Linked DNA regions of Homo sapiens: regions 1, 3, 4, 5 and 6 are each linked to region 2. Evidence: promoter capture Hi-C in 16 types of primary human blood cells and fetal thymus (Javierre and others, 2016). All regions are on one chromosome and are shown on one strand. Each heading gives the region's core, a stretch centred on a gene start or on the middle of the fragment in contact. The rest is flanking DNA. Distances are from core to core; before and after follow the strand shown.

The links. The method cuts DNA at HindIII sites, captures the fragments that hold promoters and counts their contacts. A CHiCAGO score of 5 or more calls a contact.
Region 1: a contact is called between a fragment that was not itself captured here and the fragment with the promoter of IL1F10 in region 2, in 6 of 17 cell types (erythroblasts, M1 macrophages, M2 macrophages and 3 more). The highest score is 6.7, in erythroblasts.
Region 3: a fragment that was not itself captured here is called in contact with the fragment with the promoter of IL1F10 in region 2 in 2 of 17 cell types (neutrophils and M1 macrophages); the score reaches 5.8 in neutrophils.
Region 4: a fragment that was not itself captured here is called in contact with the fragment with the promoter of IL1F10 in region 2 in 2 of 17 cell types (M2 macrophages and M1 macrophages); the score reaches 7.1 in M2 macrophages.
Region 5: a fragment that was not itself captured here is called in contact with the fragment with the promoter of IL1F10 in region 2 in 2 of 17 cell types (M1 macrophages and erythroblasts); the score reaches 6.4 in M1 macrophages.
Region 6: a contact is called between the fragment with the promoter of PAX8 here and the fragment with the promoter of IL1F10 in region 2, in 3 of 17 cell types (M1 macrophages, erythroblasts and M2 macrophages). The highest score is 7.0, in M1 macrophages.

Annotation. Positions count from the first base shown.
Region 1 is chr2:113,213,371-113,216,136 of GRCh38, reverse strand. PAX8 (paired box 8) reads left to right here. Exons shown (of 12, transcript NM_003466.4): 12 at 1-140. Among named protein-coding and RNA genes, the nearest start is that of PAX8-AS1, 22 kb to the left of the region's middle. The HindIII fragment of the contact is 5,230 bases long and covers 1-2,766 here.
Region 2 is chr2:113,066,693-113,069,392 of GRCh38, reverse strand. It overlaps IL1F10 (interleukin 1 family member 10), which reads right to left and starts at 1,423. Exons shown (of 5, transcript NM_173161.3): 1 at 1,377-1,423. The HindIII fragment of the contact is 1,248 bases long and covers 1,076-2,323 here.
Region 3 is chr2:113,230,498-113,233,197 of GRCh38, reverse strand. All of the region lies in intron 9 of PAX8 (paired box 8), which reads left to right. Among named protein-coding and RNA genes, the nearest start is that of PAX8-AS1, 4.4 kb to the left of the region's middle. The HindIII fragment of the contact is 2,120 bases long and covers 343-2,462 here.
Region 4 is chr2:112,920,693-112,923,392 of GRCh38, reverse strand. No RefSeq gene overlaps it. Among named protein-coding and RNA genes, the nearest start is that of IL37, 11 kb to the right of the region's middle. The HindIII fragment of the contact is 6,002 bases long and covers 1-2,700 here.
Region 5 is chr2:113,251,651-113,254,350 of GRCh38, reverse strand. The region is part of intron 2 of PAX8 (paired box 8); the gene reads left to right. The region is part of intron 2 of PAX8-AS1 (PAX8 antisense RNA 1); the gene reads right to left. Among named protein-coding and RNA genes, the nearest start is that of PAX8-AS1, 17 kb to the right of the region's middle. The HindIII fragment of the contact is 2,655 bases long and covers 77-2,700 here.
Region 6 is chr2:113,277,671-113,280,411 of GRCh38, reverse strand. It overlaps PAX8 (paired box 8), which reads left to right and starts at 1,491. Exons shown (of 12, transcript NM_003466.4): 1 at 1,491-1,581; 2 at 1,943-2,042. The coding sequence starts at 2,018. RefSeq lists a promoter at 889-2,018. The HindIII fragment of the contact is 9,772 bases long and covers 1-2,741 here.

The sequences.
Region 1 (2,766 bases), core at 1-2,500, 150 kb before region 2:
AGCACAGCATCCCAAGGAGCCCATAGAGCGATCCCTTGCATTCACAGCCACAGCCCCTCTGGGGACACTCTGTACCCCCGGCAGACCCTTTCCAACTCACAACCAATAAAGGGGCTTGGGCTGTGCTTTGACTAAGGTGACCATGGTTTAAAACTCGCCTTTCTTTCCCGGAGGTGAGCTGGGCTTGCCAGGAGCCTCTGCTCAGAGCGGGTGTTTGTTGACTGTGGGATGTGTTCCCCATGTAACAGGCCTTGGCTAGTACCCATCCAATATTCTGCCCATGGTCAAACCATGGGTCCCCTTTTCGGGCTCAGAAAATAAGGCCATTTATGTATCGGGCGAAAGAAAGACAATTCGACGTGCCCCGGCATTTGGGGTGGTGTTGGGAGGAGTCAGGCTGGCACATGGGGGGACGCAATGAAGAAAGGTGGGATGGCAAGGACAGGGAGGACACGCAGGGGGCTTTGAGGGTTGGCCGAGGGGCCACTTTCACCTGGGGTAGGGAGGGCGGCTTCTGTGAGTGGTCGCAGGTGAAGGGGGGTCGCTTTATGGTGCAGGGGAGCCAGGGGTTCTCTGGGGGTGGTATGTGTGTTTGTAGGAGAATTGGGGATGAGGATGGGCCCAAAACATTGCTGAGGCATTGAGAGCACTGAGGGCCTATCCCTTCCCCCTGGAATAATCCCTTTCACTGCTCATGTAGAGAGACCACCTGAGCTTCCCAGGCAGTTTACTCTTAACTTCTCCCTGGTCCATTACCCTCACTCCTCTTCATCCTCAGGTTCTAGCACAGGCCAGGCCAGCCCAGGGTGCTAGGAGCTTGCAGGAAATTCATGTGGACCAACCAACTCTGGCAGGTCAGTGGGTTTCTTGCTGGGAAAGGGGGCAGCTGGAACCCTGCCTGGGGCCCACCAGATGAACAGAATTGCTGTGACCCCGTAACCTCTACCACAAAGTTCCAGGACTAGAGACAGCGGAACTGGGAGTCCTCACCTACAAAGCCAGCCCCCAGGCTAGTTCCAACCCCTCCCCTTGTCACATCATCTCTTACTTCTCCAATATCCTTGCCATGAGTTGTGAGACTAAGAAACATGTATCTTCTGCCCTCTGTGTGCCAAACACACACTCAAAAACACACACTCAACCCTGGTGACAACTTCAGGCAAGAGGAGTTAGTGAAACCTACTGGAAGTGGAAGCAGGAGCCTCCAAATAGAAACAGAAAGACAGACAGGTTGAGGCTGTTGCTAAGATCTCCCCTCTCCCACCTGCCCTCACCATCCTCCCACTTCCACCACCCAAAATACACACACCTTTCCCATCCATACCAACATGAGGCTTCCTGGCCAGGCACTGTGGCTCACGCCTGTAATCCTAGCACTTTGGGAGGCTGAGGCGGGTGGATCATGAGGTCAGGAGTTTGAGACCAGCCTGGCCAACATGGTGAAACCCCGTCTCTACTAAAAACACAAAAATTAGCCAGGCATGTTGGCGCATGCCTGTAATCCCAGCTACTCAAGAGGCTGAGGCAGGAGAATCACTTGAACCCTGGAGACGGAGGTTGCAGTGAGCTGAGATCGCACCACTGCACTCTAGCCTGGGTGACAGAGCAAAACTCTATCTCAAAAAAAAACAAAAACAAAACAAAAACCCATGAGCCTTCTTTAAGATAATTCACACTTCCTTGTCCTCTGGGGGTGGGCACCAGAGGAAGGGGACTGCAGACCTCAACGCCATTACTACTGGGCCTGGGCGTCAGCATCAGTCCTGTCAATCAGGACTGAGGGAGGCCGCGGGGAGGGAGGGATTGAGCTCCCTCCTAGGCAGCTCCTGCACCCACAGCTTAACAGCATCTCTGTCCTGCCTCAGCCTCAGAAGTGGTAATAACCCTCTCCACAGGCTTAGTTTCTTTTTCCATACAAAGCCCATTCACATCCATTTACATCTCTGATTCTGAATATTGGCCCCCTTTTATTTTGCACTTGGGGAATCTGAGACCAAGAGATAACTTGACTTTTTCAAGGTCATTCAGCGAGTCAGCAGAGGAGCAGGGACCACAGCCTTACCCCTAATCCAAGGCCTAGTCTGCATCCTATTGTCAGGCCTCAGATATCTGGATATGGCCAGGCTTCTGAGAGATGTCAGACACTCTTTGCTTTGCAGGGAGGGGCGGCAGAAGTCACTTGGCCAGTTGGGGCACAGTGACTTCTGCTGCCCCTCCCTGCAAAGCGTGACTGGACGCAAGGCCCAGAGCTCAACTGAAGAAGCACTGGGACCAGGCAGATTTGTGCCAGGCTGATCTCAGACTTCCCTCCATCCTTGGCCCTAAATCTCCCTTCAGGGTGCCCTTTGGCAGCCCCTCTCTAACCTTTAAGGTCATAAAGCCTTCCATGTTCCATAAAGGAGCTGGTGGCTCCTCTGCCCCAGGCTGCTGTGCTACCTTCTGACGCCAAGTGACCGAGCCGCCATGGCTATGGTTCTCATGGAAGAAACTCCCTCTCTCTCACCTCTATCTCCTTCCTTTGTTCACTTCTTCTAGTTTTCTAGTTTTTTTCCTTTTCTACTGAGTCTACAGCAATTATTCCTTTCCCGACTGTTTGAGAGACATTCGTGTCTCCAGGGCTATGAATGAGGGAAAGAGACAGGGAATGTTTGGGGAGAGCTCGGAGTCCCTGACCTCCTCAGGAAATGCCAGGAAGCATCCTTCCTCCCTCTCTCCAGTGCCCTCTCACTATCACCTTCTCCCCATCACCCTCTCCCCTTCTCCCTC
Region 2 (2,700 bases), core at 174-2,673:
TACTACTGTACTTGTATTCCCGGTTTTTCTGCCTTTCATTCATTCCAACCTATGTGAGGAATGTGGACCCACGTTCTAAAGATTTTTTTCACCACATCCCTGCCCAGCTCTAGAATCTACAGTGACTGACTGTTTTGTCACCGTCTGGCACTGATTTTCTTGTGTGATAGCATCTCACTTCTCCATGGACACTAAACCACACCTCCTGGCGACATAATTCCTTTCTTATCTTCTCAGTGGACGTACTCACAGGTGTCCCATTGTTCTCCCTGCCTCAAAAGTCATCCCTTCTCATTGTCATCCATTCAGATCTTTTGATATTAAGATCACTGGAGATAGTATCAGTATAGATGGGTTCAGTATCTAGTTCTATCAAATTAATTACCAGTGTAGAGTTACAGCTTAGACATACAGGGTTATGTCTTTTAACCTCCAACCCTCAGTTTCAGCACTATACATTCATGGGATTAGATTATGTGGTTATGAAGGTTCTTTCTAGGCCAAACTATTTATAATTCCATGACTCAGAGTTTAATGAATCTTTCCCTTACTATTGTAACTCTACTCTGAACTCCTATTAAATTTTACTGTATTATTTATTGTTGTACATAAAGATATTTGTTTCCCTTATAAAAGTTTATAAGATCTTGAAGTCATGAAGCATGGCTTACAGCTCACTTGAAGCTCTCTCCAACCACCCTAATTGAACTACCCTGGTCCTTGTGGCCAGGACATAGAAACACACAGAGCAGACTTTGAATAGAAAGGCTGAGTCCTAGACCTAGCTCTGCTACCAATTTATTTTGCCACCTTTTATCCCTGGGCCTTCAACTTATCAACATTGGATGGAAAGATTGAGTAAGGTATCTTTCAAAACTGTTTTAAGTTTCACAATAAAATTTTATGCAGAATTCTAATGATTGTAAAAAGGATAAAGGGCAGCTGCTTTGCTGACACAGGAAGCAATGGAGACTTTGGAACCCTGCTAGTATTTCTCTTGCCTACAAAGAAGACACTGAGGAGCTACCAAGGAGCACAAAAAAAAAAAAAACGAAAACAAAAAATCTCTTAAGCTTCCACCAAACACGGTTTGAATACCATTGGCCCAGATGGTTTCTTTTGAGATTACTTTCTAAAGTCAGTTGTTCTAAGTAGTTCAGAAATCTTGATTTGGCTTAACCTATTCCTTCTCCTCAAATCTCTTTATGTGCTCCTAAATGTTTTTGATGTCCCATCATGTCATATGAGGGGACTACCTTGTTACCTAGACAGCTTGCCAGGAGGAGTGAAGGGATAGAGGGCATACCAGAGATATTGACAGGAGAGAGTAGAAAAGAAAGAAAAGAGAGAGAGAATATTGCCTGTCCATCACTGACCTGCAGATCCTGAGTTCCTGGAACCCTGATCCCTGGAGACTCCAACTGATTTCTCCAGGGCATTGCGCTGTGTTTATACCGTCTGGTACAGGTGGGTCAGGCCTGCACCAATCTCTATAATTGGCTGCAGGACATGAAGGAAGAAGAGCCTGGGCATTTCACAATGTCTTTGGTACAGCATGAATAATAAGATGGTGGGAACATTAAGGAGCATTTGTTGAAGGGGGAGAGAGTCATCCATAAAGCCTTGGCAGAAATAAGGTATGGGGCCCCTGCTCTGTACTGACTGTCGTTGACTATGTTATTAGTGGGTTTGCAGCCAGATAAACAGTGCTGGGGTCAGACATCTTTGGTGCCCCGTGGGGCTCCATCCTAGGCTTGAAGAGGTGGTGAATACAAGAGAAAGTATGTCTGGCAAGCCCAAGGACAGAACAAATTCTGATGCCGGAATCCAGGCTGTGGCCAGACAGCCAGAATAAGAGAAGGGGCTGATAGCACTGTGAGTGTGACTCTGTTTGGAAAGACGAGAAGGGAGTCTCTGCTTTTCAGTGGGTTTAATTAGTTGGTACCAGCTTGATGGGACAGAACATCTAGGGAAACCCAACTGCAAAGATATTGACCTCAGATTCACCCTGAGACTGAGCAGACATCATGTGCCATGGACTGCTAGGAAATATGATAGTGTGAGTAGAGCACAGAGGAAAGAACACTCAGGTCTCTAATTGACATTACTTGACTCAGTCCATCCATCCATCCATCCACCCGGCCACCCATCTGTCCATCTATCTACCCATCTGTCCATTCTTCCATCCATCCATCATCCATCCAACCATCCATCCACCCATGTGCCCATCCATCCACCCTTCTGTCCACCCTTTCATCCATCCATTCATCCATCCATCCATCCATCCATCCATCCATCCCTCCATTACAAGCGTGGAGAAGCTTAGGTGTAATGTTCTCTGGAAACTAACAACCTTATTATAATTCTCCCTCTTTGGTCATTTGCAAAGTTCCACCAAGGGCTTCTTGAGGAAGTGGGATAGGTGGGTCTAAGACTCAGATGCCTGCAGGATGAGAAATGAGAAAAGATGGGCAGAAATGGGACCAGATTTCTGCTTTCTAAGGCCAGTGATCATTCTTCTTCCACTCTCCCAATCTCTCACCCTTCTATGGGAAGGCTTAAAGCATGAGTTACTATGTCAGGCAACCAATGAGTGTTTACCCAGCATTTACACTGCTGTGTGACACAGACATTCAATACACAGTCCTTGTTGTTAAGTAGTTTCACAGTCTAGCTGAGGAACTAAGTCATAAACACTTG
Region 3 (2,700 bases), core at 153-2,652, 160 kb before region 2:
AGGCAGCAGAGATGGGTCATTTGTTTTGACCAAAGTGATGAAAAGAGCAAAACCTGTGAGCTGAGTAAAATTATGTCAGCCAGAGAAAATGGGATGCGGGGTAGGGAGGGGAATGAGAGGATAGTGGAGAGGAAGGGAGGGGAAGGGAAGGGAGGGGAGGGGAGGGGAGGGGAGGGGGTGAGGAGAAGAGGTTCATGTCAGTTACAGGGAGTTACGCAAGCCTGCATGTCTTCTGAGAATGGCAGGCTAGAGCTGGCGGCGGTCATGGGGCAGGCAAGGGGTGAGGGTGTGGTGGTGCCCATGATGATGGGGAGCAGGTGCTGTGGAAGCCGCGGAGAAGCTTGGCAAGACCAGCTGAAGGAGAGGGAAGGATGTAGGGCAGCTGGAAGTGGATAGATGTATCAGAGTGCAGACATAGGCTGTAGTGTAAAGTGCAACTGGAACAGCCCAGGGCAAACTCCCTACTCCCAAAGCCCCTACACTTTGTCCCCTCCCTGTCATCCTGTTAGCATCCCCTGTCAACATGCAGTCAATCAGAGGTGACGCCTCCAACTACTGTCAGCTGTTAATTTAGTGGACATGCCCACTCTCCAGGCCAACTGCAGGACTGAGAGGTCACCCAACCCATGGGACAAAACAGCTGGCAGCAGACACCAGGTAGTCATGTAGGAAGCAGGCAGCCAAATATGCAGCACCGGCATATCTTTCAGGCTGGTGGCCCCCAATCCAGGCCCAGATGATGCTGAAGTGCAGGTGTGAGCACTTTGAAGGTTGCTGGCTGGTCACAGGGCCCCCTAGCCCAAGGGTTGACAATTCAGCACAGAGGCAGAGGCTCTGAAAAGAGTGAGGAGTGCTAGCCTTGGAGGATCTGGGGTCCAGGCAAATGGCCAAGAGTAGGAAGCAAGTCAGAAAGCAGCTCAGGCACAAGGGAGGGGATGGCTGGTGTCCATGCTGAGCTCAGGGTGTTGGCCTGGAGCTCCTTACAGACTGTCCACCTGAGGCCTCTGGTCAAGACTGGATCTCAATACCTAACACGTGGCTGAGCCATGGTGAGAGAGCTGGGAGGACATGACGGGGGGCGGTGGGGAAGGTTAGGAAGGGAATGGTTCCAGGAGCGCAGGAGGCTGCAGACCTTCCCAAGAAGAGGTGAATTTGAAAGAAAGAGAAGGAACCTGGGCCCAATGGCTCACACCTGTAATCCCAGCACTTTGGGAGGCCAAGGTGGGTGGATCACCTGAGGTCGGGAGTTCGAGACCAGCCTGACCAACATGGAGAAACCCCATCTCTACTAAAAATACAAAATTAGCCAGGCGTGGTGGCACATGCCTGTAATCCCAGCTACTCGGGAGGCTGAGGCAGGAGAATTGCTTAAACCCAGGAGGCGGAGGTTGCGGTGAGCCGAGATCGTGCCATTGCACTCCAGCCTGGGCAACAAGAGCGAAACTCCATCTCAAAAAAGAAAAAAATAATAAAGAAAGAGAAGGAAGTTGAGGCCACATTATTCCTAAGTAATGCTGCAGACCAGGAGAGAGGAGAGAGGACACAGTGAGTTTTCATTCCATAATCAGCTCAGCTTTAACCCGCGTGAATCTTCCACATGCCTCTGAGTGACTCCCAAGGACCCTCGCTGCCGCCTCCTGCAACTCCTTCACTACTTCATAGCGTTTTTCTCTGGGTCACTTATTTCCGCCTGGTGGCTCTGATAGTGTGATTTCCAAGGTGACTATCCTTCTGAGTCTCAGCTCATCCCCAGTCAGCCAAGAAAGAAGAAACAGCAAGGTTTGGGGAATAGCAAGAGTGCCCCTAACATTGCTGCCAGTTCCCTTTGGAAGCCCCAGTCTGGAGTCCCAACACACTGGCCAAGACAGCAATGTCGAGGCCGTCCTGGTCCCAGCTGCTCTGGGACTGCCTCCAGCTCAGCTCAAAGGAAAGCCATGAGTTAGGTTTTATCATCAAAGAGTCCATTCCCCTCCTCCATCCTTTTGTACAAAATTATATTTAGTTCTGCCAAAGAGATTTCTGAGTTGCCATAAATTCTCCTTGCTATCAGAACGAGATAAGGAATTGAAAAGGGGTTACATGGAGGGCAGACTTCAAAGGGGGAAAATAAAATAGTCTGAAATCACCTCTACCCTCTGAATTCCTCCAGGCAATAGCTTTATGATTCTGGCCTCTACCAATATTTAGAATATTTACCAATATTTCAAGGTGTAGGGGGAGCTAGAGTTTTCTTAGAGAACTCCACGGCCAGTCAACATGGGCCTATGCTTTCTGTCAACTTCCTAAAATAGGACCACGTTGGAAAGAAATTTGGGTGTAGAGGAGATGGAATTCATAGCGAGGATCGTTTTATGATGAAGAGTCTTAAAAACAGAGAAGTAGGTAAGAGGGCATGGTTAGGCCGTGATGGAGTTTCCACCCCACAGCTTCTGTGGTTTTGTTTCTAAGAAGGCTTGCAAGCTTCTTGGCTTTTTGGAAGAAACTATGCATTTAAGCAATTGGAGCAAAGAGTTTTGTAGGGCTGTTGGGAGAGTTTATTGTGCCATAGTCTGGGTGAGAGCCATGCTGAAGAAAGTCTTACCAGTCTTTCCAGGAAGACCAGCTTTCATGGCAGGAAGCCTCAGGCGTCTGTTCTGATGTCCGATTCAGAAGCCTCTACCCCATTGGGAAGACATTAGGTGACTGAGGGGAGATGAAGAT
Region 4 (2,700 bases), core at 193-2,692, 150 kb after region 2:
AGACTGCCAGATTCTATATATCCTGCCACATGCTCTGTTGTTACAGAACAAAGAAGGCCATAGACAGCATGGCTGTGTTGGCAAATACACAAAACAGGCAATAAGCTGTATTTGGCCTTTAGGCTGCAGTTTGCCAACCCTTGCACTAACACAAGGAGCTTAAAGGTAGCGGTGGTGCTGTGCTGGAGCTAGCTTATATCAGCTTGCAATAGCCAATTGCTAACATCTCTTCCAAACTCTGTGTCTGTGCCTTCATGTTGGTAGTTTGAAATTGGCCATATTTGGAGTAGTTATGCCATGGAAATTGGCAAAAGCTGTATATCCACCATCACCAGCCCCCTGTGAACCAGCTGATCACATCACTAGGCATGTGTCCACCAGGATGAGAGTGAGGGTTGGGGATGGTTGAGCCAGACAGTGCATGGGAATGTGGGAAGAAAATATTAGATGTCAGACCCTGTTTTATTTAGCCCTTGTAAATTTTTGAATTCTGTGTAAGTTTCATAATGTCCCAATGCCTGCACTTCAAGATGTGTTCTAGAGTTTGTTTAATTGATTAGGATAACTGGGACCAAAAAAATGTTTGGAGTCTACCACTCCTAAAGCGATTTATTATATCCTATGCTGGATAGCTCATTCATGAACAGAGTGCCGGGTGAATAAGGGTCTTCTCTTTCTACACCCGAGACAGCCTTCTTCTTGTCCCCACCTGCCTCACCCTGCCCCAGGACCTCGGATGGGGTAGGAGGAGTGACCAGCTGTGAAAGGAGCTTCTGGTTGGAATGTTTCCTATGGGAGTTTCTGTCACAGATTAAATGCCCTGAGATCACCTTTTGAGAGACATTAAATTTCATGGGATGAACAGTTATCATGTTGGGTATTATGAGTTGAATTATGTCCCCCAAAAAGATATGTTGAGGTCCTATCCCCCAGTAGCTGTGAATGTGACCTTACTTGGAAATAAGGTCTTTACAGATACAGTTCAACTTAAGATGAAGTCATTCGAGTGAGCCCTAATTCAGTATGACTCTGTCCTTATAGGACAATCTGGACACAGAAACACAGAGAGAAGACAGTCATGTGAAGATGGGGGCAGAGACTGGAGTTTTGCTGCCACCAGCCAAGGAACCCTGGAGCTACCACAAACTGAAGGGAGGCCTGGAACAGATTCTCTCTCAGAGCTCTCAGAATGAACCAACACCTGGAGTTCAGACTTTGGCCTCCTGAACCAGGAGACGATACATTTCTGTTGTTTTAAGCCACCCAGTTTATGGTTCTCTATGGGAGCTCTAACAAACCAATACTTTGGGATTCTCAGGTGTGAGGCATAAGGGCCAAAACTTTTTCACTAAACATAAAGACCAATGATTACAATTACAGTTAGGAAAATGAAATTCAAAACCACCTGAGTTTATTTATACACATTTTCCAAAATGCATCTCCTTTGCAAGGGAAGTCATATTACTATAGAAATATGGAGAAGGCCATCATTTAAATAGAAGGCTTCCTTTCCTTTCTCCCTCCCTCTCTTTTTTCTTCCTTTCTTCATTTATAAAAATCTTATGGAGTTCCTACAAGTGCCAAGCACTGCAGTGGGTTCTTGGGATACATCACAGAGCAAAGAACTTGTGGGACATACATGCTAGTGGAAGACACAAACAATAAATGTAAGAAGAAAACTATACAGCATGTTAGAGTGAGAAAAATAAGACAGGGCAAAGGGGAGTCAGTAGTGCTGGGGTGAGAAAAGATTGCAGCATTAAATGGGGTAGCCAATTTCAAACTATCAACATCAAGGCACAGACACAGAGTTTGGAAGAGATGTTAGCAATTGGCTATTGCAAGCTGATATAAGCTAGCTCCAGCACACCACCACCACCTTTAAGCTCTGTGTTAGTGCAGGGGTTGGCAAACTGCAGCCTAAAGGCCAAATACAGCTTATTGCCTGTTTTGTGTATTTGCCAACACAGCCATGCTGTCTATGGCCTTCTTTGTTCTGTAACAACAGAGCATGTGGCAGGATATATAGAATCTGGCACTCTATGAAAAGTGCTGACTCCTGCTCTACAGGAGAAGAGACCACAGATTGACTTCAGCTTCCAAATACTCATCCCGGAGTCAGTCTAGAGCCTGAAATTTAGAGCCTGAAGCACAGTTTCCACCAGAGGGCTGCAATGCATGATAGTTGGGGTTTTTCACCTCTCACCCAAAAGCCTACTCAATGCGATCACCACAACCATGCCTTTCATGAAGTCAACAACAAACAGGGCCTTGTGCTTCCGTAAGGTGTTGATGCACTTGCTGTCTTGGTGGAGCCTCACAGGAAGCATGAGTGACCCATGTCATAGTGACTCACTATATCTCATCAGGTTGGAAGGGGATGGAGCAGGACCAAGCCCAGGCTGTCTGTGTCTCCATTTGGCCTGCATGTTCGGCCTCCTCAAGGCCATGGTCAGTAAGCCCCATCTCCTTTCTGCTAGTCTGTAAGGGAACCAGAGTCCTCACTGCCATGAGACAGCCCCGGCTCAGAGACTAATTTGAACAGCTGTGTCTTTGTTGTGAAAATAGTTTTGTGATATTATGAAGAAGACATGCCTTCCTCTCCAAAATATGGATGTCACCTGGCCACATTTTTTTTTCTTTTATATAGTGATACATAATATTTCACATATTTATGGCATACATGCAAGTACTCATTAC
Region 5 (2,700 bases), core at 155-2,654, 180 kb before region 2:
AATTACACATTTATTTCTGTATTTACTTTTTAAATATATACCCATCCCCAGCCTACCTATCCCTAGCCTGAAAGCTTCATGAAGGTAGAAATCAATTCTATGTAATCAGTTCTATTAAAATGTTTGCCACATGGTAGGCATATAAAATACATGTAGAATGGATAAATGAATGCAGGAATATTTGAATGCTGGGGACAGACAGGAAGGTATTGGTTAGGTAAATATTTAGGAGGTAAAACGTGGTCTTGTGAGTATTCCATATGCAGAGAATGGAAAAAGATAAAGGCTATTAGTTGATTCATGTGACATGTTTACTGAACACCTAATATAATTTAATAATGATCAAAACGAAAGAAGTCTTCCCCTCATGGAGCTTTCTATCTGGTGATAGAAGACAGTTATGATTCATACATATATAGTTATGCAAAAAATGTAAAATTAAAATTTGGACCTAAAGATGCAATTAAATTTATCTATGATACCTCCCCAGTCCCCCCAAAATTCCTCCCTTGACTATGAGACTTTTTCTTCCCCTCACTTTCAACCAGATTCCAAACAGCAGTTATATTTGATGCTACCTTTCTATGACAGCCATTCAAGAAAGGTAAAGCATGTTATTAGAACACCCAAACAGAAGCCTGAACCTACTCTGCAGGATAAAGCAAAGCCACCGAGGAAGTGACTCAGTGCTGAAATATAAAGGATGAGCAGGAGTTAACTAGATACGACAGGGAGACAAGAGCTCCAGGAGGAGGGAACAGCATGTGCAAGTGCCCCAAGGCTGGGGACACACTGTTACTTCCAAGGTTGTGCAGAAGACCGATGACAGTGCGGTGCAGAGAGTGTGGTGGCAGGTGGCAGGAGGTTGAGTGGAAGGGGCAGGCCCTGAGCTTGCATGACAGCTGGTATTGTTACCAACCAAGACAACACTAGAGGAGGAGCCCCCTTATCACCTAAGAGGAAATCTCCAATAGAAATTGAAAACAAAAGTTGGGGGAAGGACCTGACTGGGGTTACCTGGGATGCCCATGATGCCATCATGAGATGGGTAGTAGGTATGACAATAAGGGTGTGTAGGATCACCAAGGATGGCCTTGAAGGGGGAGAGAAACACTGAGAACTAAGAGAAGCCTGAAGGGAGAAAACATATGTCATGGAGCAAATAAGGGAACAGAACCCCATTAAAGCAAAGCAAAAAGCCTAGACTGAAGGTATAAGGAATCAGGAGATGGGATTGTCACTAAAATCTCTTCAAGAGGGAGAACATGGCACCCTCCAACCACTCACTGTCCATCCATGGCCACTCATCACCAAGCACATGCTAAGCAGGAGGCACAGAGCAGGCTGAGCACCGAATGTGAAGGGAGGAATGGGCTGCAAGTATAGCTGCTTTTTGAGAAATTTAGTTGAAAACAATAGGAAAGAAGAGTATCATGGTCAAGGGAAGAATTTTTTTTGTTTAATGTATTTTGAGGTCAGGGGGTGGAGAGGCAACATAGATTAATTTAATTCCATTTGTACGTTTAGGGGAAGGACCTGGTATAAAAGAAGAGGTAAGTAATGTTTTTAAATGGGAGGATAATTGACGGAGTAGGATTCCAGCACAGGTAGAAGGGCAAGAGATCAATGAGAAACACAAGCCGCAGCTTTGCCTAGCTGCTGTCTTTCGGCTACAGTTTCCCTTAGGAAGACAAGTGTAAGGCACAGAGGTAACCAAGGGTCATGCAGCAAGTTGGGGGTAACAGCAGATGCAGGATGCTGCTTTCCAGCATGCCAGCCTCTTTTACCCAGTCCAAGGGTCTCATGTGTCCAGGTAACCCATAACCTCATGTGTGCTGGCATGATCCAGTGTGCAGACTTTGGACACTGGGATTCCATGGCCCTGGGACACTTTCTTCAGGAGCAGTTGGAGGCACAGACCCTGGCCTTTACTCCAGAAAGGCACCAAGCCAAGAGGATTAGCTGGGAGGTGGCACATGGAGATCACAGACCTGCAAGTGAGCAGCTGGGGAAGGCAACAACACCAAGCTGAGAATGCCAGGGACTGATTCGCATGGACAAGGCCTTTCCTTTGTGGAAGGCGTATAGGCCTGGCATGATTTGAAAGGCACCCAAAGAGGCCACTGCACCTCTCACTATAGCCCTGCCAAGGCTCAGCTATCACCTTGACACTCTATGGGACTAAAGCAAAAAGCCCCAGATAGTTAAGTGGAAATTTTTGCAGAACACCACATTGAGCCATTGCCACTTTAGGACTGGGCAGAGCCGCAAAAGATAAAGCAAAAGGATAAAGAGGAAAGTACTGAAGCATGGGATTTGGGGGTCCCACCATGCAGAATCATGGGAATCCATGCAACAACCATAACCAATGTAAACCATTTTTCTATCACTTGTATATAAGAAAACACTAATTACAGTAGACAAAGACAGGGCCCCTGCCTTTGAGTAACTCATAAAGAAACTCAAATAGAGAAAGTTACTGTTCAATGCAGTCAGTGCTATGATAGGAATTTGTGCAAAGGACTATAGGAACATGGAGAAAGGATTTCCACATCTTAAGGGTTTGGATATTGGTGCATATAACAAGAATTTTGGTCAATAAGTGTCTCTGTTTTCTTTCTGCCATCCCAACTACTCAGAGCTCTATAAAGGATGAAGAAATTACCAACAAAGTCCTAAGACCTCCCTGAATGGTCACTT
Region 6 (2,741 bases), core at 242-2,741, 210 kb before region 2:
GAAGCACCAACTATTTTTGTTTACAGCCCCTCTTTGCAAATGTGGAGGAAACATGTAGGGATACACATCTTCTTCTCTCTTTTTTCACAAGATGATTCATTTCTCCTAAATTGAGAAATGAGAAAGACTGGGTGGAAGGAGGTTGTGGATTGACATGAAAGAGAAAACTTTTTTAATTCAGAAAAATAGTTCATGTGTTTTCACACACGTGTACATATGTGCATACACACACACACACACACACACACACACACATCCAATCCCCCTGAATATCCCAGTTTCCCCTGCACCTTCCTTGCCCCCCTCCCACTGGCTTCTTAGCCTCCTGTCCCAGAACAACCCCACCAGGCCTGCAGAGCCATCACTGAAAAGGGCATGGCTGTCCTCTAGACTGTAATCCTGAGTCCAGAGGTCTGGCCAAAGATTGGAGGAGCATCCAGGCCTTGACCCCCAGGCCTGCCAGTGTTCCAGGACATTTGCTCACTCATACCCACTCACAATCTTACGTGTACCCCGGTTCCCCGACTGAGAGAACTATGAGGAAGGAGGGGGCAGCTTTTGCCATCACTAAGGTAAAGAGGTGCCAGGCAGCTCTGCTCGGTCCCAGGGCTCACCAACCCTGCCATCATTCCCACCAGTGGACCCCTTCTTAACCACACCCAGGCCCCCATATTGCTGAGGCTATTGATTCCTACAGACCAGGCCAGAGGTCAGCTCAGTCCTGTTCCTTTCTAAGGCCTTTCCACACAGAGATGAAGTCTAGGCCCTCAATGCCCTTCCCCTGAACTCTTCTTCCAAGTTCAAAATCCTCAAGGAGCAAGAAAGAGGGCAGGTGGCTGCGTGTGTGTTCCAGAGGAGAGAGGCGAGGAGTTGCTGTGGAATGGGTTATGTGACAATTTTGTTAGCCTGACAATGCAAGGGTGTGAACGCTATCTGTGTAGAACAGAGGGAATGGCTTCAGGTGCTGCTCAGGATTCTTCCCTGGAAGAGGTCATAGCTGTGGTGAGAAGGTAATAGCATCTTGCCTACAGCCCCGAAAGCAGGCTCTACCTAAAGAATCAGGCATAAAACAGAAGTTCCCTCCTTCCTTTTACAAAAGAAAAGGCTGCTTCCTGGTGAGCAAACCAGGGGAGACAGGGGGCAAGGAGGGCATCCTACAGAGACCATCCCTCTCACTTCTGGTGGTCAGTGACCCAGGAGGACCCAGAGAACCTCATCCTCAGGCTCCTAGGCCTCTGTTCCCCACTCCTCCAATATTTCCAGGCCTGCTGAGTTAGGGCTCAGCTGCCTCCCTCTTCCCTCCGCTGGAAACAGAAGCTCCCAGCGAATGTTTCTAACTCCTGAGTCCACTCAGCCATGTCCCCCTTGCAAAATCCTCCCCTTCCCGCACCCCCCTGCACCCAGCCAGCCAATCCGCGGCCTACGAGCCTCGCCAGACCCATCTCCCAGGGCCTCAGCGGGATAAAACCGGTCGGTGATGCCGGGTGGATGGGAACAAACTTCAGAAGGAGGAGAGACACCGGGCCCAGGGCACCCTCGCGGGCGGACCCAAGCAGTGAGGGCCTGCAGCCGGCCGGCCAGGTATGTCACCCAGGGGTTAGCTGGAAGCTGGCTAGCAGTGAGGACGGGGGATGGAAGAAAGGAGAGGGTCCCAGGATGCCTGGCAGCCTTTTCCCTCCCAAGTTAAACGGGATAAGACTGGGACAGCGGAGGGAGTGGGCACGGAGGTTGGAGTCTGGAGCTTCTTCAGCGCACTCCCAATCCTTGATCCTCCCGGGAAGCCTGTTAGCTAGGCTAGGCTGAGGTTGGCCCTACTTCGCCTAAAAATCCTCCTACTCCTGGCAGACGATGCAGGTGTAAAGGATGAGGCCTGGGGAGGGGGCCTGAGGATGCAGGCATCGAATCTCATCGCATCTCATGCCCTTCTCCTGGGTTTGTGCAGGGCAGCGGCAGGCGCGGCCCGGACCTACGGGAGGAAGCCCCGAGCCCTCGGCGGGCTGCGAGCGACTCCCCGGCGATGCCTCACAACTCCATCAGATCTGGTAAGAACGCGGTGTGGTCAGGATCCCCGAGCCCCCGCGCCGCTGAGCGTCCGTGCGTGCGCTCGGGTGGTTGGATCTCGAGAGCGTCAGCACGGGATTCGCGGGACCCACCCGCGTGGGGACCCAGCTGGGGCGCCTGGGGCCTGGCCCTCCGCTGGAGCCGCCTCGCTGTTCTCGGGCACTGGGGTTCCACCCGGCCAGCTGAGCCGCCCTTGCCCGGTTTCGAGGGACCACATGGATCGGTGAGGGGATCTCTGTGGAGTTAGAGGGGGTTTCCTTTGAGCTCCATTCCCAGCCTTGCATGGCGCATTAGTGTGGACATTCTTCGTGCTCTGTCCCTGGGCTGCACCGGTGCTGGACTTGCCGTTTCCCCGTCCCCGACCTCTAAGTCCTCTTCCTCGGGTGCGCGCAGTCCTTCCCAGTGACTCCCCTGGCTGGACTGTGAGCTCCCCGCATCTCTCAAGCCAACGGCAATGGAGCCGGTGGTCCCGGGCCCGGGAGCCGGCAGCGCACTCAGGTGCTCTCCGACTCCTCCTGGCCCAGCACCGGGCAGGCCGGGCGCCGCGCGCGGGGCGTCCGGCTGGTGAGGACTAAGCCGCTCGCGGAGTCAAAACCCCCTCCCCACCTGCGCCCGGAAGCAGGGCCTTCAAACACACTCGAGCTCCCAGGCCGCGATGCCTGTTTTCCCCCTTCCCGGCC